Regions from separate parts of the Homo sapiens genome. Here all the other regions are linked to region 7. The links are contacts of gene promoters, found by promoter capture Hi-C in blood cells and fetal thymus (Javierre and others, 2016). All regions are on one chromosome and are shown on one strand. The core of a region is centred on a gene start or on the middle of the fragment in contact, and the rest is flanking DNA. Distances in the headings are between cores, read along the strand shown. Region 1 has its middle 24 kb from the start of CCNJL. Region 2 holds the start of CCNJL (cyclin J like). Region 3 has its middle 45 kb from the start of PWWP2A. Region 4 overlaps PWWP2A (PWWP domain containing 2A). Region 5 has its middle 3.4 kb from the start of C1QTNF2. Region 6 holds the start of PWWP2A (PWWP domain containing 2A). Region 7 holds the start of CCNG1 (cyclin G1).

The links. The method cuts DNA at HindIII sites, captures the fragments that hold promoters and counts their contacts. A CHiCAGO score of 5 or more calls a contact.
Region 1: a fragment that was not itself captured here is called in contact with the fragment with the promoter of CCNG1 in region 7 in 1 of 17 cell types (naive CD8 T cells); the score reaches 5.4 in naive CD8 T cells.
Region 2: a fragment that was not itself captured here is called in contact with the fragment with the promoter of CCNG1 in region 7 in 2 of 17 cell types (fetal thymus and erythroblasts); the score reaches 6.0 in fetal thymus.
Region 3: a contact is called between a fragment that was not itself captured here and the fragment with the promoter of CCNG1 in region 7, in 2 of 17 cell types (non-activated CD4 T cells and total CD4 T cells). The highest score is 8.0, in non-activated CD4 T cells.
Region 4: a fragment that was not itself captured here is called in contact with the fragment with the promoter of CCNG1 in region 7 in 2 of 17 cell types (non-activated CD4 T cells and activated CD4 T cells); the score reaches 8.2 in non-activated CD4 T cells.
Region 5: a fragment that was not itself captured here is called in contact with the fragment with the promoter of CCNG1 in region 7 in 2 of 17 cell types (activated CD4 T cells and total CD8 T cells); the score reaches 7.7 in activated CD4 T cells.
Region 6: the fragment with the promoter of PWWP2A here is called in contact with the fragment with the promoter of CCNG1 in region 7 in 3 of 17 cell types (naive CD8 T cells, non-activated CD4 T cells and activated CD4 T cells); the score reaches 7.8 in naive CD8 T cells.

The regions. Positions count from the first base shown.
Region 1 is chr5:160,335,196-160,338,276 of GRCh38, forward strand. It overlaps a transcript of CCNJL not described here. Among named protein-coding and RNA genes, the nearest start is that of CCNJL, 24 kb to the left of the region's middle. The HindIII fragment of the contact is 6,065 bases long and covers 1-3,081 here.
Region 2 is chr5:160,311,703-160,314,465 of GRCh38, forward strand. It overlaps CCNJL (cyclin J like), which reads right to left and starts at 862. Exons shown (of 6, transcript NM_001308173.3): 1 at 662-862; 2 at 156-270. The coding sequence starts at 221. RefSeq lists silencers at 791-910, 1,021-1,080. The HindIII fragment of the contact is 841 bases long and covers 1,029-1,869 here.
Region 3 is chr5:160,072,595-160,075,690 of GRCh38, forward strand. It overlaps a transcript of PWWP2A not described here. Among named protein-coding and RNA genes, the nearest start is that of PWWP2A, 45 kb to the right of the region's middle. The HindIII fragment of the contact is 4,000 bases long and covers 1-3,096 here.
Region 4 is chr5:160,095,517-160,098,216 of GRCh38, forward strand. The region is part of intron 1 of PWWP2A (PWWP domain containing 2A); the gene reads right to left. Among named protein-coding and RNA genes, the nearest start is that of PWWP2A, 23 kb to the right of the region's middle. The HindIII fragment of the contact is 7,889 bases long and covers 1-2,700 here.
Region 5 is chr5:160,372,674-160,375,391 of GRCh38, forward strand. No RefSeq gene overlaps it. Among named protein-coding and RNA genes, the nearest start is that of C1QTNF2, 3.4 kb to the left of the region's middle. The HindIII fragment of the contact is 4,183 bases long and covers 1-2,718 here.
Region 6 is chr5:160,118,010-160,120,900 of GRCh38, forward strand. PWWP2A (PWWP domain containing 2A) reads right to left here and starts at 1,441. Exons shown (of 2, transcript NM_001130864.2): 1 at 796-1,441. The coding sequence starts at 1,379. RefSeq lists silencers at 437-856, 977-1,156, 1,257-1,356, 1,517-1,566 and an enhancer at 993-1,492. The HindIII fragment of the contact is 17,972 bases long and covers 1-2,891 here.
Region 7 is chr5:163,436,166-163,438,899 of GRCh38, forward strand. It overlaps CCNG1 (cyclin G1), which reads left to right and starts at 1,430. Exons shown (of 7, transcript NM_004060.4): 1 at 1,430-1,639. It also overlaps a transcript of LOC105377700 not described here. RefSeq lists enhancers at 1,035-1,084, 1,526-2,103, 1,795-1,994 and a silencer at 1,275-1,354. The HindIII fragment of the contact is 4,161 bases long and covers 165-2,734 here.

The DNA.
Region 1 (3,081 bases), core at 227-2,726, 3.1 Mb before region 7:
GAGGTTGCAGTGAGCAGAGATCATGCCACTGTACTCCAGCCTGGGCAAGAGAGCGAGACTCCATCTAAAAGAAAAATTACATTTTAATATATCTGTTTATATATAATGTAGACTATATAGTTTATGATCTATTTATATATCTATATTTTTATGTACCTGGATATATAGAATTTATATATTTTTATATACAGAAAATCCCAAAGAATCCACAAGAAAGTTGCTAGAGTACAGCTTCCTATTGTCTCTTGCCTGGGCATGTTTTGCCTCCATTCCTCCACCCAAAATGCTCTTTCAAGGTCTCTGATCTCCATCTTGCTAAAGCCAATGGTCAACACTTAGTCTGCATCATCTGATATGGTTGATCATTCCTTCGTCTTTCTTTCTTTCTCTTTTTTTTGAGATGGGGTCTCTGTTGCCCAAGCTGGAGTGCAGTGGCGTGATCATAGCTCGCTGCAGCCTTTGAACTCCTGGGCTCAAGAGATCCTCCTGCCTCAGCCTCTCAGATAGCTGGGACTATAGACAAATGCCATCATGTCTAATTTTTTTTTTTGAAATTTTTTTTTTTTTTTGTAGAAACAATGTTTTGCTTTGTTGTCCAAGCCATTCTCAAATTCCTGGCTTCAAGTGATCCTCCCGCTTCAGCTTCCCAAAGTGCTAGAATTACAGGCATGAGACACTACACCCAGACCCCTTGCTCTTTTTAACAGTATCTTTGGTTTCCAGCATCACAGTCTCTTGATTCTCTTCTAGCTCTGTAGCAACCACTTACTTTTCAGTCCTCCTCATCGTCCACAATCCAAATACCAGAGTGTCCCAGGACTCAGTCTTCAGACTCTCCCCTTCTTTATTTGAATTCTTCCCCCTTGTGATCTCTCTAGAACCATGGCTTAAAAGCCATCTATAGACTGAGGACTTCTAAATTTATATCGTCAGTCCAGAACTCTTCTCTGAACTCCAGACTCATACATTCAACTACCCATTTGCCATCTCAACTTAGTTGTTGATGACAGTCCTCAAAAGAATATGTCTACATCAAATGTCTGGAACCTGTGAATGTGGCCTTATTTGGAAAAAGGGTCTTTGCAGATGTAATTAAGGGTCTTGAGGTGAGAAGATCTCTAAGAGGGTCCCTAAGTCAAATAGAAGTGTTCTTATAAGACACAAAGAGAGGAGAACCACTCAGAAGAGGAGAAGGCTGTGTGACCAAGGAGGCAGAGACTGCAGCAATGCAGCTGCAAGTCAAGGAATGCTGATGGCCACCAGAAGCTGGAAGAGGCAAGGAACAGAATCCAACCAAGATCCTTCAGAGTAAGCGCGGCCCTGCTGCTGACATGTAGATGTCAGACTCTGGGTTCCAGAACTGTGGGAGAATCCATTTCTGTTGTTTTAAGCCACAGTTTGTGGTAATCTGTTATGGCAGCTCTAGGAAACTTACACAGATGTTTTATAGACATCTCTGACACAATGTTTCTCAAAACAAACTCTATTTACTCACCTCCTGCTCCCATCCACAGAGCCTGCTCCTCCCACTCCTCCCAGGAGCAGTGTTTCCCATCCTGGTGAAGGGCAATTCCAGCCTTAAAGTTGCTCAGGCAAAAACCTTTATGTCAGTGTTGACCCTTCACTTTCCGTCACAGGCCACATCCAAATACTCAGTGAAACCTGTTGGCTCTATCTCCAAAGACGGCCAAAATTACATCGTTTCTTACCTCTTTCCTGCAACCACTTGGGGCCAAGCTCCCATCATCCCTTGCTGGGATTTTTTTTTTCCTCCCTCCCTCCCTTCCTTCCTTCTTTCTTTTTCTTTCTTTTTTTTTTTTTTTTTTTTGACAGGGTCTAGCTCTGTTGCCCAGCTTGGAGAGCAGTGGCACGATCATGGACTACTGCAGCCTCTGCCTCCTGGGCTCAAGCAATCCTCCCACCTCAGCCTTCTGAGTAGCTGGGGCTACAGGCACGTACCACCATGCCCGGCAAATTTTTGATTTTTTTTTTTTTTAGGGTGTAGAGACAGGTTTTCACCATGTTGCCCAGGCTGGTCTTGAACTCCTGGGCTGAAAAGATCCTTCTGTCTCGCCTCGCCTCCCAAAGTGCTGGGATTACAGGTGTAAGCCACCGAACTTGGCTGCTGGGATTATTAAACTAATCTCCTGTCTCCCTCTTTTGTCATTGCCCCTCACAGTCTATTCTCAAATAGTAGCTGGAGGAATGCTGTTATAATTGAAACCAGACTTCATCGCGCATCTGCTCAAAGCCCTCCAATTATTTCACGTCTCACTCAGCATAAAAGCCAAGTGGTTACCAGTTCTGCAGGGCCCTACATGATCTGGGTGCTTGTAACCTTTCTGAGGTCATCACCTGCCACTCTCTTCCTGTTACTCTGCTCCTTGAGCCAACCATGTTGACTCCCACCTTAGGGACGTTGCATTGAGAATGTCGGGGGTTGGGAAGGAGCTGGTAGAGCTCCTTCCAACAAAATGTTGCCAGGTTACATTTTGTGCCATTGGAGATTTGTAGGCATGAATTGAAAGTAGGCCCAATCAGCACAGTTACGTGTTCTTCTTAATATTTAGTTGGAAATGAGTGAATTGTGAACAAATGTGAACCTGAAAGAACCAATCCTTCAAGATAGATCCTGAGTGGCTAACTGGGCCTAAATTTAAAATAGAGCCAAATGACCATTTGCTGACTACAGATCACACACATACTCTGAGTTCTGCAAACACCCCTCACCTCCGTTTAATTTTGGGACTTTCAGGGCTCACCTCAACCAACCAGAGCTCACCTACTTCAGCCAATCAGGGCTCAGCTGTATCAATCAAGCAGAACTCAGCTGTATCAACAATTCAGAACTAAGCAAGTTTGAATCCTTCATTTGCATAAACATGTTTGATTGGAAACCTATGTGGGAACTTTTTCTATAAAAGCTAAACCTGGCTCACTCCTGTAGTCCCAGCACTTTGGGAGGCCAAGGCGGGTGGGTCATTTGAGCCCAGAAGTTGGAAGCCACCCTGGGTAACATGGTGAAACCCCGTCTCTACAAAAAAACACAAAAAAGCTAACTGGGTGTGGTGGCATGGGCCT
Region 2 (2,763 bases), core at 199-2,698, 3.1 Mb before region 7:
TTCCGCTCAGACACTCCGGGAGAAGGTAAAGGGTAAGAGGAAAAAAAGGCACCCGGGAGTTCTGAGTTCCCACGCAGGCGACCTGAGAACACGAAGTCGAGACCGAAGGAGACTGTACCCAGTCTTGAGAGTGACAAGGGCAGGGAGGGACTGACCTTCTCGCGCAGGGTGCAGTGGACGTCCGAGGCGACGCGCCCTTCCCACCACGGCTCATCCATCATCGCGTACGCAGCGCCGCTATCCGAGGCTACCCGGCTCTCAGGGCGCACCCTGCGTGGACACGGGCAACTTCAGCGGCCAGAGCGTACCCCGGGCTCCGACCCCCGGTGTCCCTATCCTCTCTCGCCCCTGGCCCCGGGCCCCGGCGGGCGCCCCCTCCTGCGCCGCTCAGAGGAGCTGGAGGTCGCCTCTGGTCCGCGGAAGGCTGCGGTGCCCCCTCCCCTCTGCTCGCCGGACACGGGGCGATATGGAGCTGTGCAACAACTTGCAGAATTTTTATCTTCCCTTTTGCAAAAGTTGCAGAGAAAGTTGTCAACTCCGCTAGCTCGCTCGAGGCTGGGGCTCTGGCGGCGGCCACAGGCTCGCCGTCCCCAACTCCTCCCCCGCCGCCCAGCCTTTGTCCTGCTCCCACATCCTGCCCTCGAGCCGGGGCGAAACTCACGCATCCTCTCTGGGCGTGGGGGGCTGCGAGCGCCGGGCCCCTCCCAGTGCCGAGCCAGCCGTGCCCTCTGGTGCCTGCCGGCGGTTGGACCCTCGTCCGAGGCGCTCCGCACTCCCGACGGCCGCCTCCGCAGCCCGACTAGCCCCCGCCGTCGCCGCGCCCCTGCGTGCGCTCGGGTCCCGCCGCGGCTCGCAGGCTCCCGGCCGCCGGGGGCCTCCCTCCCTCGCTGGGGGAATTGGGGGCCGGGCCTCGCGCATGCGCTGCCGGCGCCCCCGCGCCCCGCGGGGCGGGGGGCTGGGAATTGGAGCCTTTCTTTGCCAGCTCTGGCTCCGCTTCCTGCCCGCCCTCCTCCCTCGCTTCGGCGGAAAGCTTCTCTCTCACCTTCGCTGAGGCTAGTGGTAGCCTTCTGGGCACCCCTCCGGCTTGCGCAGGGAGCAAAGGGACCGCGGCGCCACCTGCGCGCACCACGCGTGAAACGTGCGGACAGGACGCCCCCAGAAAGTTCTGCCTTCCGCGCGCACTGCTCTAGCCATCCTTACGTCGGTTCCACCTGTTTTTCTTTCTCTCTCTCTTTTTTTTTTTTTCCTGTTTTTGTTTTTTGTTTGTTCTCCTCTTCTTTGAAACCCGCCCTGCCATGGGGAGGTAGATTTCCAAACGGACAATTCCAGTGAAAGCTGCAGAAAAACCACCCTTGTTCACCCACGAGTCCCTAATTCTAAAGGAGCCTAAGTCACTGGTATTATTGTGCTCCTGCAGAATATGAACTATGCCTCACATTGGAGGAAAACCAGTCTTTTTTTGCCGGGTCCGGTGGATGGAAAACATTGTCTTTTTAATTCAATTGCTTGCTTTTGGAAAGTCATCCTTTTGAGTCAGCCCATCTGATGGCATAGCATTGGGCTATCCTTCTTGGCTGATTGATTTTTGTGATAGTTTTGGAGATTCACAAATTTGGAATCAAATCCACTTACCAACTGGGTGATTTTTGTCAAGTTCCTCAAACTCAGAGCCTCGTGTGTAAAATGGAAATAAAAGTTAAACCAACCTGCTGAAAATTAAAGGAGATAATGCGTGTAAAGGGATAATCACTACACCAGGTATTAAGTGAACACTCAGTAAACAACTGTGACTGAAGAGCCTTTAGTTTCTGACTGCTTTCCTGCACATAAAGACACACCTGGGAAAAAAAAATTAAATCAGCTTTGATAAGCTTCAATTGGACCTTGAAGAGCAGTTTTAATGTAAAACAAACGAACCATTTTAAAAGTGTAAGATACCTAAAAATAAACTGAATAAATGTGCAGGCTCTTAATGAAGACATTACAAAGGTTGAAACATAATAAAGAAGGCTTGAAGGAATAGAGGCACAAACACCAACTTAACCCAAATTACTCTATTTAATAAAATTTTAATGGTTGTGGGTAGATTGGAGGAGGGGGCACTTAACATGTTTTCTAACCTTCAAATGGGAGAATATCTGCGAGAAAAGCTAAGAAATTTATATTTTAAAAATGGGGGGATGGCGGGGCGCGGTGGCTCACGCCTGTAATCCCAACACTTTGGGAGGCCAAGGGCAGGCAGATCACCTGAGGTCAGGAGTTTGAGACCAAACTGGCTAACATGGTGAAACCCTGTTTCTACTAAAAATACAAAAAATTAGCCGAGTGTGGTGGTGCACGCCTGTAATCCCAGCTACTTGGTAGGCTGAGGCAGGAGAGTCACTTGCATCTGGGAGGCGGAGGTTGCAGTGAGCCGAGATCGTGCCACTGCACTCCAGCTTGGGCAACAAGAGTGAAACTCCGTCTCAACAAACAAACGAACAAAAAAACTGGGGGGACAGACCTGTATTATCAAATCTTAAAGCATATTGCAACACTATAGTTAAAACAGTGTAGTGTTCACACAAGAATGGATGGATTAAGCATCAGTGGAATAACTGAAAGTCTAGGAAAATTTAATATATTTAAAAATTCACTGTATGATAAATGTGGCATTTCACTTTGTTGGGACAAGTATAAACGGCTAAATTATTTAATAAATTAGGTTGGGGGAAAAAAGTAAAACTAAGGACTTGTTTAAATATCACCAAAATAAATATAAGA
Region 3 (3,096 bases), core at 202-2,701, 3.4 Mb before region 7:
TAGTGCACACCTGTAGTCCCAGCTACTCAGGAGGCTGAGGCAGGAAGACCACTTGAACCACAAGGTTGAGGCTGCAGTGAGCCATGGCTGCACCACTGCACTCCAGCCTGGGCAACAGAGCGAGACTCCGTCTCATAAATAAATAAATAAATAATAAAACAAAAATTAGCCAGGTGTGATGGCAGGTGCCTGCATTCCAGCCTGGGTAACAGAGTGAGACTCCGTCTCAAAAATAAATAAATGAATAAGTAAATCAAAAATTAGCCAGGCATGATGGCAGGTGCCTGTAATCCCAGCTACTCGGGAGGCTGAGGTGGGAGAATCACTTGAACCTGGGAGGCGGAAGTTGCAGTGTGCCGAGATTGCACCATTACACTCCAGCCTGGGCAACAAGAGCGAGGCTCCGTCTCAAAAAAAAAAAAAAAAAAAAAAAAAAAAATCCTAACATCTCCCCAGGGGTTTCGGCCTTGGCTGAGTAGGAACTGAAGAGCTTGGTGAGATGGATTTCTACACCTCATTTTGCCAATAAGGCTGCTGTGTGACTTTGCTGTCAAAGGTCATTGATAGAACTGATAACAGAATCCATGTCTCCTACCTCTTTAGACTAAGGCAGGTTATTAGTATAAAAACATTTCTTTTTTTTTTTTTTCTTGAGACGGAGTCTCACTTTGTTGCCCAGGCTGGAGTACAGTGGCGCGATCTCAGCTCACTGCAAGCTCTGCCTCCCGGGTTCACGCCATCCTCCTGCCTCAGCCTCCCGAGTAGCTGGGACTAGAGGTACCCACCACCACGCCCGGCTAATTTTTGTATTTTTAGTAGAGACAGAGTTTCACCGTGTTAGCCAGGATGGTCTCGATCTCCTGACCTCATGATCCACCCTCCTCGACCTCCCAAAGTACTGGGATTACAGGCGTGAGCCACCATGCCCGGCCAAAAACATCTTTAACATCACCAAGCCACTTTCCCTCCTTTAGACAGCTGCTTCTACAAACTTGCCTCACAAGGAAATAATGAAAGGGCTAACCCTGAAAGTACTCTTAACGCTTAAAGACAATGTCTTCCCACTGTTTGGCCAGCTCTCTCTTCTTCTGGCACAGTTTTCCTGAATCATACTCTCCTTTACCCCAAGCTCACTACCTTGTTGGTACCAAAGCAAAGGAATTGTTAAGGCCATGAAATTTCATTCCAAGCCGGGTGCGGTGGCTCACACCTGTAATCCCAGCACTTTGGGAGGTCAAAGCGGGTGGATCACTTGAGGTTGGGAGTTCAAGACCAGCCTGGCCAACATGGCGAAACCCCTTCCCTACTAAAAATACAAAAATTAGCCGGGCATGGGGGTAAGCACCTGTAATCCCAACTACTCAGGAGGCTGAGGAAGGAGAATCTCTTGAACCCAGGGGGCAGAGGTTGCAGTGAGCCGAGATCGTGCCACTGCACTCCAGCCTGGGTGACAGAGTGAGACTCCGTTTCAAAAAAAAAAAAAAAAAATTTCATTCCGATTAAGCAAAGATTTGGCAGCATGCTAATCACTAGAGAAAAGGATGCTTAAAAAATAACATATTCTGGCCAGGCAGTGGCTCACACCTGTAATCTCAGCACTTTGGGAGGCTGAGGCAGGTGGATCACCTCAGATCAGGAGTTCGAGACCAGCCTGACCAACATGGAGAAACCCTGTCTCTACTAAAAATACAAAATTAGCTGGGAGTTGTGGCACATGCCTGTAATCCCAGCTATTCGGGAGGCTGAGGCAGGAGAATCGCTTGATCCCAGGAGGTGGAGGTTGCAGTGAGCCGAGATCGCACCACTGCACTCCAGCCTGGGCAACAAGAGCGAAAATCTGTCTCAAAAAAATAAATAAATAAATAAATAAAGTCCAGGCACAGTTGTTCACGCTGTAATCCCAGCACTTTGCGAAGCCGAGGCAGGCGGATCACCTGAGATCGGGAGTTTGAGACCAGCCTGACCAACAGGGAGAAACCTCATCTCTACTAAAAATACAGAATTAGCCAGGGGTGGTGGCGCATGCCTGTAAACTCAGCTACTTGGGAGGCTGAGGCAGGAGAATTGCTTGAACCCGGGAGGCGGAGGTTGCAGTGAGCCAAGATCGTGCCATTGCACTCCAGCCTGGGCAACAAGAGCAAGACTCCGTCTCAAAAAAACAAAAAAAAAAACAAAAAAAACCTCTTTATTCAAATAATTTCTTATTCTGATAAAAGAATCATGGCCAGGTGCAGTGGCTCATGCCTATAATCCCAGCACTTTGGGAGGCCGAGGCAGGAGGATCACTTGAGCCCAGGAGTTTGAGACCAGCCTGGACAACAAAGCGAGACCTTGTCTCTATTATTTAAATTAAAAAAAAAAAATCTTTACTTGAAAAAGGAAAAATGAACTTACGCTTTCTTATGTGAAGGCCAGCATTGGTAAGATTTTCAGTTGCTTCTATTGGTTCCATCATTCATTCCCTCCATCTTGTAGGAGTTGTGTCTATAAATATACTGATACATGTATACATGACCAGGATCAGTATGAGTCTCCTGTAGGCCCTCTCAGATAATGAGCACATGGCTTGTTAATCTTCCCTGGTTCTCCCTGTTCCATTTTCATTAGTGAGAAATTTGAGAGAAAAAAGATATTAGCAGAGCCAGATTCCTGTGGTCTCTTTTTTACACTCATTTAAATAAACTGAAATGGGAGAATGTTTGAGATTAAAGCCTTCATGTACTCTGGAATAACAGGCAGCCAAAGGATTGCTTTTCTTGAACAGAAAAAAAAAGTACATTGACCTAAGTTTCTGGGTCAGTCCTGTGAACTGTCTGTAGGTTTTAAAAGGCTAATTTTTTCCTGATAACCAAGTGTTTCTGATTCTTAGGTCAAACCCTTGACCTCTCACTCAATGTGCTGGGCTCTTAAAGAAGCAACCATTTATCCATAAGGGCAGGATTCCTTAAAATTAAAACAAAAGAAAACAAGACAAACCCAGCAGCAGATATTTAATTACATCCAATTCTGAAGGGTAGGTTGTTTCTATCGAAAAGCTGTTATGTTTGTGCACAGGGTCCTAATTAAACTGTTCACCCTTCCTCCATCCTTCGTCAT
Region 4 (2,700 bases), core at 18-2,517, 3.3 Mb before region 7:
AATACAACTGTAATGCCAATCCTGTAAGGCAAAGGGGCTTAGATCTAAACCCAAAGATTGGCTTCAGGTAGTCAGTCACGTGGAACCTTCAAAACTAGATGCCAGTGTTTTATATATGTCTATATTTTCTACACTACAAATCTTCAGTGCTCAGATTCTCCGAAATGTTCTTTTTTTTTTTTTTTTTTTTTTTTAAAGACAAGATCTCACTCTGTCATCCAGGCTGCAGTGCAAGTGGTACCATCACAGCTCACTGCAGCCTCGACCTCCTAGGCTCAAGCAATCCTCCCGTCTCAGCCTCCCAAGTAGCTGGGACCACAGACACACGTCACCATGCCTGGCTAATTTTAGTATTTTTTGTAGAGACAGGGTTTCACCATGTTGTCCAGGCGAATGCCTGAGCTCAAGCAGTCTGCCCACCTCAGCCTCCCAAAGTGCTGGGATTACAGACGTGAGCCACCGTGTCCAGCCAGAAATGTTCTTATGCTCCCAAAAAGGTTCAGAATACCTTTGCTAGGAAGAAATCTTGATATTAGGTACTAACAGCTGTGGACAAACCTAAACGTGGGCAGGATTTACAAAGAGCCAGCATACACCAGGTATTATTCTAGCACCTGAATACTTTTTTCCCAAAATTCTTTGTTAGTCTGGCTACCACAAACCAACAACTTACAGCAAATACTTACAAAACATAAAAAGGAAAGGCTTTTTTTTTACCTACGGTAAGACAAGATTAGGTCTCGGATAGTCCAAAAAGGAAAGGTACCTCCTATTGTATCAGACTGCACAGAAAGTTGCTTTCTCCATTCTAACTTCTGGTAACCAAGTGTTTGCTTCCTGACTACTTAACTCAAAGTAACTTTAAGCATTTAACCCTTTCTTACACAGTACATAGGTGCTCATTAACCACTTTTTCAAAAGATGACAGGACAAAAGAGGTGCTTCTTGTGTTTTAATGCAGAACCAACATAAACAATGTGACTTATTTGATGTGATATCACTACTTGCATTAACAATAACATTTTCTAACTTGTAAGAAGGCATAATTTTGCCCCCATCACATGTTCACGTTTCAATACCTGAATGAAGAGAAGTGCCCTTCCTCTTACTGATTTATAAAATTTTTTTATAGAGACGGTGCCTCACTCTGTCACTCAAGCTGGAACGCAGTGGTGCAATCATGGATTGCTGCAGCATCAACCTCCTGAACTCAAGCAATCCTCTCATCTCAGCCTCCCAAGTAGTTGGGACTACAGGCACCTGCCACCATGCCTGGCTCCCTTCCTTTTATTAGGACTAACTAAACCATACTTATCTTAATGTTTGAGGTGAAGTTTCACAGCTGTCTTTTATCAACTGTTTGTATCCTCTAAACTCATTTTTGCATGTGTAAAATGAAACACTATTTCTGACCTTAAAAGGATTCAGATAAAGATCAATAGGTGAATACGCGGCAGCCATTTTCCTTGGTTAATATTTACTTTATTTAATTTGCTTCATGTAAGTGATTTAATCTTATTTTCAAACTAGTAACTTACAGCCTGATGCAGTGGCTCACGTCTGCAATCCTAACACTTTGGGAGGGTGAGGTGGGCAAATTGCTTGAGCCCAGGAGTTTGAGACCAGCCTGGGCAACATAGGAAGACTCCGTGTTTCTACAAATAGGAAAAATTAGCCTGGTGTGGGGGTATGTACCTGTGATCCCAGCTACTTGGGAGGCTGAGGTGGGAGGATTGCTTGAGTCTGGGAGGTCAAGGCTTCAGTGAGCCATGTTCGCGCTATCGCACTCCAGCCTGAGCAAGTGAGTAAGCCTTTGTCTCAAAAAAAAAAAAAAAAAAAAAAAAAAAAGGCCAGGCACAGTGGCTCACGCCTGTAATCCCAACACTTTGGGAGGCCTGAGGTCAGGAGTTCAAGACCAGCCTGGCCAACATGGTGAAACCCCGTCTCTACTAAAAATACAAAAATTAGCTGGGTGTGGTGACACGCGCCTGTAGTCCCAACTACTCGGGAGGCTGAGGCAGGAGAATCGCTTGAACCCGGGAGGTGAAAGTCGCAGTGAGCCGAGATCGCACCACTGCACTCCAGCCTAGCAACAGAGAGAGACTCCGTCTCAAATAACATAACATAAAAATAAATAAAACAAATACAAAAACAAAAAACACCTAATAATTTACTAGAGGTTTTTTTTTTGGGGGGGGGGGCGGTTGTTTTGTTTTTTTGAGACAGACTCTCACTGTCGCCCAGGCTGGAGTGCAGTGGCACAATCTCGGCTCACTGCAACCACCGCCTCCTGGGTTCAAGCTATTCTCATGCCTCAGCCACCTGAGCAGCTAGGATTACAGACGCGAGCCATCACGCCTGGCTAATTTTTGTATTTTTAGTAGATGGGGTTTCATTATGTTGGCCAAGCTGGTTTTGAACTTCTGGCCTGAAGTGATCCACCAGCCTCAGCCTCCCAAAGTGCTGGGATTACAGGCGTGAGCCACTGCAACCAGCCAATTTTGCTAGAATTTAGGCTCCTTCCCATGTCTTTAATTTATACTCTCAATGCAAGTATGGCCCAGCCAATTATTTTATAGCTGTTTATATCAAGTAATGGAATCTGGTATGTTTATCTTTATGAAGTTCAGTAAGAATGTTAATATTTCGCAACTGGATTGTTTTTATTCTCTGCTGTTCCCACATAAGCATACAAAATAC
Region 5 (2,718 bases), core at 135-2,634, 3.1 Mb before region 7:
AGTCTACGAACATTTGTTTGTTTGTTTGTTTAAGATGGAGTCTTGCTCTGTTGCCTAGGCTGGAGTGCAGTGGCACAATCTCAGCTCACTGCAATCTCCACCTCCCGGGTTCAAACGATTCTCCCGTCTCAGCCTGCCAAGTAGCTGGGACCACAGGCGCGCAACACCACACTAGGCTAATTTTTGTACTTTTAGTAGAGATGGGGCTTCACTATTTTGCTCAGGCTGGTTTTGAAATCCTGGCCTCATGTCATCCAACTGCCTCGGCCTCCCAAAGTGCTGGGATTACAGGCGTGAGCCATTGCACCCGGCCACAGTCTATAAACATTTATTACCTATTATGAGTATGGGGACAAAGAGATGAACTTCTGAATGAGAACACAAATTACACCAGGAGGCAAAATACAATTAAGTGCCATAGGAAAGGTGCAAAGTGTGAACATGAAAGAGGAGGATTTTCCCCTTCGATTTCATTCAATTCATTTCACATCCATTCACATCTAGAGAACATGCTAGTATCCACCTAGAGAAGACGAATGATATTATGACATTGATGGCCACAGAGCGGGGCAGCCATGAGGCAGATGTGGCAGATTGGCTTGTTCCACAATTGTCCAAACTTTTCTTGGTGTGCTTTCCTATACAACAGAGACTAGAAAGCTAAAAATCCATTTCCTAGACTCCTTGCTGTTGGGGCTCCCATTATAATTTAGGTTTAGCCAGTCCTGTGCACCTGGGAAAGACCTGAATTCAAAATTGTGTTCAGAAAAACAAAAAACAAAAACAGTTATGTGAAGAGGAGGTAGCAGCCTGGGAGGAATCCACTTTGCTGGTGGTGACCTGGAAGATGCAGTGTGACTCTAGAGTTCTGCCAGTTCCTGATCCCCAGATTACACCTAAGATGTTGTGTTCTTGTAGTCAGACTAGGCCAGTCGCCGGCCTCCTGATTGTGGCAGAAGGCCACATCCCTTGGGGTGGTGGGGTTAGTACGACGGCAGGTTTTGGGACTCATTCCTGCAAGCCCAAGCCAGAACTTGTTCTGCAATGGTTCTGAGTCTATTTGATTCTTTTTATTAAATTCATGTCTGCTTAAAATCCTAACTGACATGTCATGTTATGAACTATAGGTGCTGTGAAAGTCAGGGAAAGGAGATGAGTGTGGATCAGAACAAGCAGAGAAGAAATCTAGAGGACTGCCTTCTTTCCTCTTTCTATCCACCTCCTATGCTCAACCCCATTTCAATCCTCCCATCAACCTTCAGATTAATCATTGATTAAATATCAGCAACTACAATGCACCAGGCACTCTGCTTGATGTTGAGCTCACAGTGATGAATGAATAAGGAAGGTCTCTCCTTATGAGACAGATGTGAAACCAGCAACCAAATAAACATATAATTCAAAATTGTGGTGAAAATAAGAGGGAAACATGGGAAAGAATAACGGTATGAAGTCTGTGAGATAACCTACTTTGATTGAAAAGTCTAGATGATCTCTTCAGTAGGTGATATTTAAGCTGAGTCCCAAAGGATAAAAAAGGGCTAGTCATACAAAGGTAGCCAAGGTGAGGAGTGGTGCCAGGCAGAAGGAGCAGGGTATGTACAAGCTACCTTAGTCCTTCTAAATATCTTTCTAATGCTTCCCTGTGTAACAGAGGATAAAGCCTAAACTCAGCCTTTTTTTGTTGAGGGGACTGTCCTATGCATTGTAGGATTAGCAGGATCTCTGGCCTCTACCCACTAGATACTACCTACTAGTAGCAGCCCTCCTCGACCCCAGCTGGGACAACAAAAATGTCTTCAGACTTTGCCAAATCTTTCCAGAGGGGCAAAATTGCCCTCTGTTGCAAACCACTGTCTTATAGGTAAGCTCTGCTTTGCTCAGGGTGGTTTTCTCACTGACTCCCAAATGCACCATCAATGTTTACATTTCTGCACCTACATATGCCATTCCCTCTAATTACTATATCTTCTTCTACCTCTCCACAAAGCCTTACCATTATTTCTACCAGAAATTCATGGCTTTTTCCATTGGTGAACTCTGTTTGGATGACTCTCATGTGTTTTGGGTGGTAGGGGAAGAGAGGTCTATCTTAGTGCTCTGTCTGCTCTCTGGCTACAGTGCCAGGGGCATGTGAATTACATACCCTTTCCCTTTCTGCCCAGTTAGGAGTTGAATTGGTGGGCATGAGATCCAAGTGAGCCAATCAGTCTTTCCACGTGATCTCCATAAGAGTGCATTGCTTTTCTTTTGAATTGTTGACTGCAAAGAGGTAGCCCCTGGGCTGCCACTAGCCATGTTTTTCCTGCCACTTGGAGACAGCCTGCTTATGGCAGGAGACAATGACATGAATACACAAATAGAAGTAGATTCAAGAAGAACTGAAAGGTGGAGCAAGTGCCATGACTACATTATTAAAGCCCTTTTTTCAGATACTTGTGCTAAAACAGGTTCATTCTCATATTCTTTTTCTTTCTTTAAGCTAGTTTGAATTGTTTCTGTCAGTTACCATGGAAAGTCCTAATCAATATCCTTCAATGCCTAGTCCAAATCTTTCCTCTTTTATGAAGTCCTCTCAGCATAGAACAGTATGAAGAAAATCCCTTCTTTGCATTCTTAACTTGTGGTTTGGTGGATCCCAGCAGCCAATTCCATGCATCTCTTCCCAACTCTGAGTTTAGTGATGTCATGTTGGTAATGTGAAAGTAATCACACCAT
Region 6 (2,891 bases), core at 191-2,690, 3.3 Mb before region 7:
TAAATCAAAAAATGAAAATGTGGTTAAGCCAAATTTGTAGATGAACTCAACCTTCTTGTCCTTAATACATAAACTGAATCCCAGGTGTTAGAAGTTACTTGAACATTTTTATGCTACACCACCTTGACATTAAAGGATTTTTTAAAAATCTCCAATCTCTTCTTTAAACTTTTCTTAAACTATCATTAAAATTAGCAAAATATGCTTCTCTGTTGAATGGTTAACCTAACGGGAATGACTTCTAACCGTAAGAATTACAGTTAAAAGGTTCATTTTAACAAATGCTCTTCCCCCTGTAAGGAGTGACAGGTAACCTTTTGGGAACCCCAATGTACACACCCCTTTCTCCAATCCCGCTAAAGTTAAACGTTAGAGGACAGACAAGTGCCTCCTCGCAAGCAATGCCCCCCGCCCCCCCGTCCCCCCGTCCAACACTCCGTTCTCTGCAAAAATCCATCTGCATCTTGCATTAACCCACCCGCCCAGTGACGGTGACTCCAGGCCAAGTCGCAGAAGAAGACCAGGCGTGAGGGGTGAGACCTGTGAGCCCATCTGCACCTGCACCCTCCCACCTGGTGGCACACCTGCCCCGCAGGCGCCCACCTGGGGCCGGGACCGCCCTCTCCCGGTCTCGCGCGCCTGCCCCACTCGGAGCGCGCGCCACGCGCCGCGCAGGACCAGAGGGCGGGGCCCCGGGCAGCGGGGAAGCGAGGGCTCGGGGAGAGGGGGCCGCCCGGGCTCACTCCCTCCCTGGGGACCCAGCGGACCGGAGGGTGCTGGGGGCGGGCGCGGTACCTTTTGGACAGATCCATGAGGACCCCGGAGAAGAGCTTCTCCCCGAAGCGGAACGACACGACAAGCGCGTCCTCAATGATGTGGTCCAGCGTGACCCGCACCTCCGAGCCCGGGATCAGTTGCGACACCGTGGAGTCCCCGCCCGCCGGCGGCACGAGCGCCGGGGCTACGGGCTGAGGCAGCGGCGGCTCCTCGCGCTCCTCGGGAGCCGGGGGCTGCTCCGGCGGCGATGCAGGAGAAGGTGGAAGTTCCGGCCCTCCCTGAGGCGCGGCTGCCGCCGACTCCGCCACCCGAACGGACAGTTTCTCCTCAGCCTCCAGCTCCGGCCCCACCGCCTCTGGGCTGCGGGCGAGCTCCCCCGGCGGCGGCGGTGGCGGCGGGAGCGGCGGCTCGTCGGCCTGAGGAGCGGATTGCTGCCCGTCAGTCTCGCCATCCGGCACAGACGCTTCAGTGGCCGTGACCGGGAGGGGGTCAGTGCCGGCCTCACTGCCGGGGATGGGCTCCATCTCCGGCTCGGCCTCGCCGGCGCCCCCCTCCCCGGGGGACGCTGCAGTCGCTGCCGCCTCTGCAGCCACGGCCGCCATTTTCTTCCTAGCTTCTCCCTCCTCCAACTCCGGCTGCAGCGGCGGCGGCGACAGCGCTGCTTGGTTCCCTGGGCCTTCCCCTCCCTCCCGCGAACACTTTCGTCCCGCCCTTTCCCTGATGCTCGTTTCTGGCACCTCGCCATTGGTTGCATTCTACACCCCTCCCGCACTTTTGATATTCCATTGGCCAGGGATGGACGTCTATCATCTAGTCAGTCCATCCTTCCCACGCAGAGTAGGAACTTCTCATTGGCCAGATGTGTTGTCAAGTGTGGAATCTGAGTGGAGGAATAGGGGGCGGAATCAAAGGGGGCGGGGGAAGTCACAAAAGAGGAGCCATATACTCATCGCCTCTTGCTATTGGCTGGAAGAGGAAATAAAGTTTTATGGTTGGCCTACGCTCCTGCCCATTATCAGCCAGGTCTTTGGAGGTGGGAGAAAGGATGGAATCATGTGGCGTGCCACTTCTTTCAAAGGCGGCCGAGGGGAGGAGTAACAAGGGAATGCGGGAGGGGAACCGCTTCCCAAGAATCTCTGCGCAGAGATCCTTAGAATAAATGTTATTTCTAGGCGCGGACTTCTTGCGGCCGCGTGTGGGCACGACAGGCTTCTTTGGGAAAGACAACTAAAGTTTGAAATACAATCCTACAGACACTTTTTGAGTGCCTACTATGCTAGTCACTGCACTAGGTGCTGGGGAATGGAATGTTCAAGACGTTCTCCATAACCTCATAGCAGCGGGCTCCAGCGGCCATGAGGAGTACGAGGAGTATTTTCCTTGACTTCTAGGAGTATGATGAGTATTTTCCTTGACTTCTCTCCACTTCCTAGGAACAAAGCACCTATTTATTAATATTTCAGAAATAGGAAAATGCTCATGAAAGAAGAGAGACACCATCCTCACTGGATTAAACTGATGACTGTTCCAGGAAGGAGTCTTGAGACATTGCTGGACTGATATGTGAACACTGCTTGTTCTCTCCAAATCCACTTGCAAAGTGGACGCACCTGGTCCCTGCTAAAGCCTTTTTCTTTCCTGGCTTCTCCAATGCCACGAGAACAAAAGATCTCTCACTTCAGTGTCCTGACGCCCCTACTTCTCTTACTTCCACATCAAGTCTTTTCGTTTGTCATCTCTGGAAGAATCTACTGAACCTATTTCTCTCAAATGGCACCACAGAGTCAGCCTTTTTTCTGGGAGAATGCCTGCAGGAGAGAGGGTAGAAAAACTGCTAGCAATGAAAGTAAAAAAAATAAAGTCCTGAAGAATAATTACAGCTAGTGTCTTTTGAGTACCATGTACCAGGCACTAATACAAACACTATAGCATATCATCTCAATCCTTAAAATTTTGAGGCACAAAGAGGGTGCCCAAGGTTACTCGGCTGGTAAATTGCATAGTCAGAATTTCAGTTTTACATGGAAAAGACTGAAAATAGCAATAAACAAATATCACCATATGCTCTGCCTATTTCAAACCAAGTGGCTCGTGGGGAAAGGCCAGTAGAAGAT
Region 7 (2,734 bases), core at 180-2,679:
AAAAATTGTGCATATACATTCCTAATTTTAGGAATTAGGAATAATAGGAACTAAAAGCCAAAAGGAGAAACTACATTTATAAACTCACACATTACAGCAAAAAGTATTTTTAAATAAAATCACTTGTTAAAGGTTATAAATTGCCAATTTATATTCACTAGGTAAGCTTTTATTTTCAAAAGGAACAAAGGCCTCTTCCCCATTTGAGCCCCAGTTTCTTAAACTGACCTGATTATGTGGCTAAGGTATTATTGTGAGGTATTGATGTTTTCTCCTGTTTTTCCTTCCCCTTCCTCCCCACCCCTTTTCCCCCTTTCCAGAGTTTTGTTCTGTGGCATTGCCTTGGGTAAGTACACGGCAGGGCAAATAGCAGAGTGACGGCAAATCTTTCAGATTTTCACTTTTTCAAAGTAAGAGAGACCGAACTGGGGCCATGAGAACAGAGACATCCAACTACTGTGTAATTCATAAGAGTTTAGAAATGACTCCTTGTGCACCCTTTTTCAGGCCCTTTTACAAATGGACTTTTCTCACTTGTGATGATCTGGGAGAGTGAGAGTGAGGAGAGTCTAAGAAGAGTTCAGGCTAATTATTTTCCCACTAATCTGGCATAGGAGAGGCTCACAGAGATTAAATTCATTATGGTAAATACAAAGAGTAATACTGCTTTACACTCGGGTCTGTAGACTGAGATTCACACTCACCACAATTATTCCTGTTAACAGTCTGCCACATACCTTTCATTTTAAGCAACTGAAAAATTGTACCAACTTTTCTCTTTAAATTTGCTTTAAAAGCAAATTCAGAAAATTGGTAGAGGGTCAAGAAATTACACAGTCCAACTCCATTATTTGATAAATTGTATAAAAAGCAAACTAAGGCAAGAATCAACTGACTTCCAAAGTTCACGAAGAGAGCACTCTGGAAGTTGATAAACCACCAAACCATATAAATTCCACCACCTCTTTATCTGTAATTAAAAATCAAAGGTTGACTTTTTTTTTTTTAACTACTCACTGTATTTTTAGAAAGATGGGGCAGAACCACTGTAGAACTCCTAAACCCCACAGAACAAACAGTACATTCTGGAATGATACGCCGGCCAATCCGGCTGGCAGCCGATTGACCTGACCCAGGCGAGGGTTGCTGCACCGAGTATTTAGTTTGGCCCCCTACTGAATGAAGACACTTTGTTAAATTCTCCAATGAGAGACGCTTAGAGGTAGGGGCGTGGAAGGGGGCCGGGGAATTTGAGGCCAGATAACGGGAAGTGTGAGCCGATTGGCCGGACTTCTCACTCCACGGCCCAGCCGTTTACGGATCGCGGAGGCCATCCATCAAAAGAATTACACCAATCAGCGGCGAAAATGCCCCCTTCTCGCGAGAAAGCCCCGCCCTCCAATATATTCCTCGTTAGGGCAGGCGCGGCCCCTTCGGCTCCGAGCTGACCCTGATCAGGGCCGAGTTGTCTCGGCGGCGCTGCCGAGGCCTCCACCCAGGACAGTCCCCCTCCCCGGGCCTCTCTCCTCTTGCCTACGAGTCCCCTCTCCTCGTAGGCCTCTCGGATCTGATATCGTGGGGTGAGGTGAGCAGGCCCGGGGAGGGTGGTTACCGCTGAGGAGCTGCAGTCTCTGTCAAGGTGAGTGGGACTGCGCGGGAGTTGACCGCCAGGTGCGGGTGGGGAGCTGGGTTGGGGGCGCGGGGCGAGGAGTAGGTCTGGCCCGCGCCCTTTTCCACACTAAACTCTACCGCTGTTGTGAGCACAAGCCCAGGCTAGTCCGAGGCTGGAGGGGCGGAGCCGGATCCGGCCTCCTGAGGTGCCTTTCGTGTCTGCCGACCCAGTCCCAGGGACTAGCCTGGGGAGGAAGAATGGAACCCCTGCAGTTAGAGGTTCCTCACATGACTAGCTCTGAAGACCTCCTGCCTTCCTGTCTTTAGTTGGTGTGGGAGGGACCTTCCATGTATCCAGGGCTTAGCTTGTGCCCGGGACATGGTTGTGTTATGCACACTTAAATCAATGGAATTCCCAGGTTCATCTTTCAGACTAGGTTAGCAACAACCCACCGCACCCCCCCGCCCCAATACGTGCTCCTAATGTCACCTTTTAAGTTTCCTTTCCTAACAACAATAAAAGTTAAGTAATATTGAGTATTGTGTGCCAAGCACTGTGCTATACTCTTTAAGTGGTGAATCATCTTGTTCAGTCTTCACATTCAGCGACAGATATTGTTACCCTCATTTTATAAATCTAGAAAGAAGCTCAAGCTCATTATTATTGTTCAGTGTTTTTTAAGCGTCTACTGTATGTGCTAAGCTCTTTACGTGATTTCATTTTAACTCACAAATCTGTGAGGTAGGTCATAAACCTTATCCCTACTTTATCAATGTGGAACTAAGTACAATTAAGTAACTTGAACAGTTCATTTTGTTAATATGTGGCAGAATACTTAACTACCATCTGCTTTTCACTTTCGGTATCCTGTCTTACGGTGTTTATTCGTGGTTATCTATTGACAGTGAATAACTTGAACAAGTATTTCTTGAAGATTTGCATTTTATTTTTCTAAAAAGCATGGTTCCGACCGGGCGCGGTGGCTCACGCCTGTAATCCCGGCACTTTGGAAGGCCGAGGCGGGCAGATCACAAGGCCAGGAGACCGAGACCATCCTGGCCAACATGGTGAAACCCCGTCTCTACTAAAAATATAAAAATTAGCTGGGCGCGGTGGCGCATG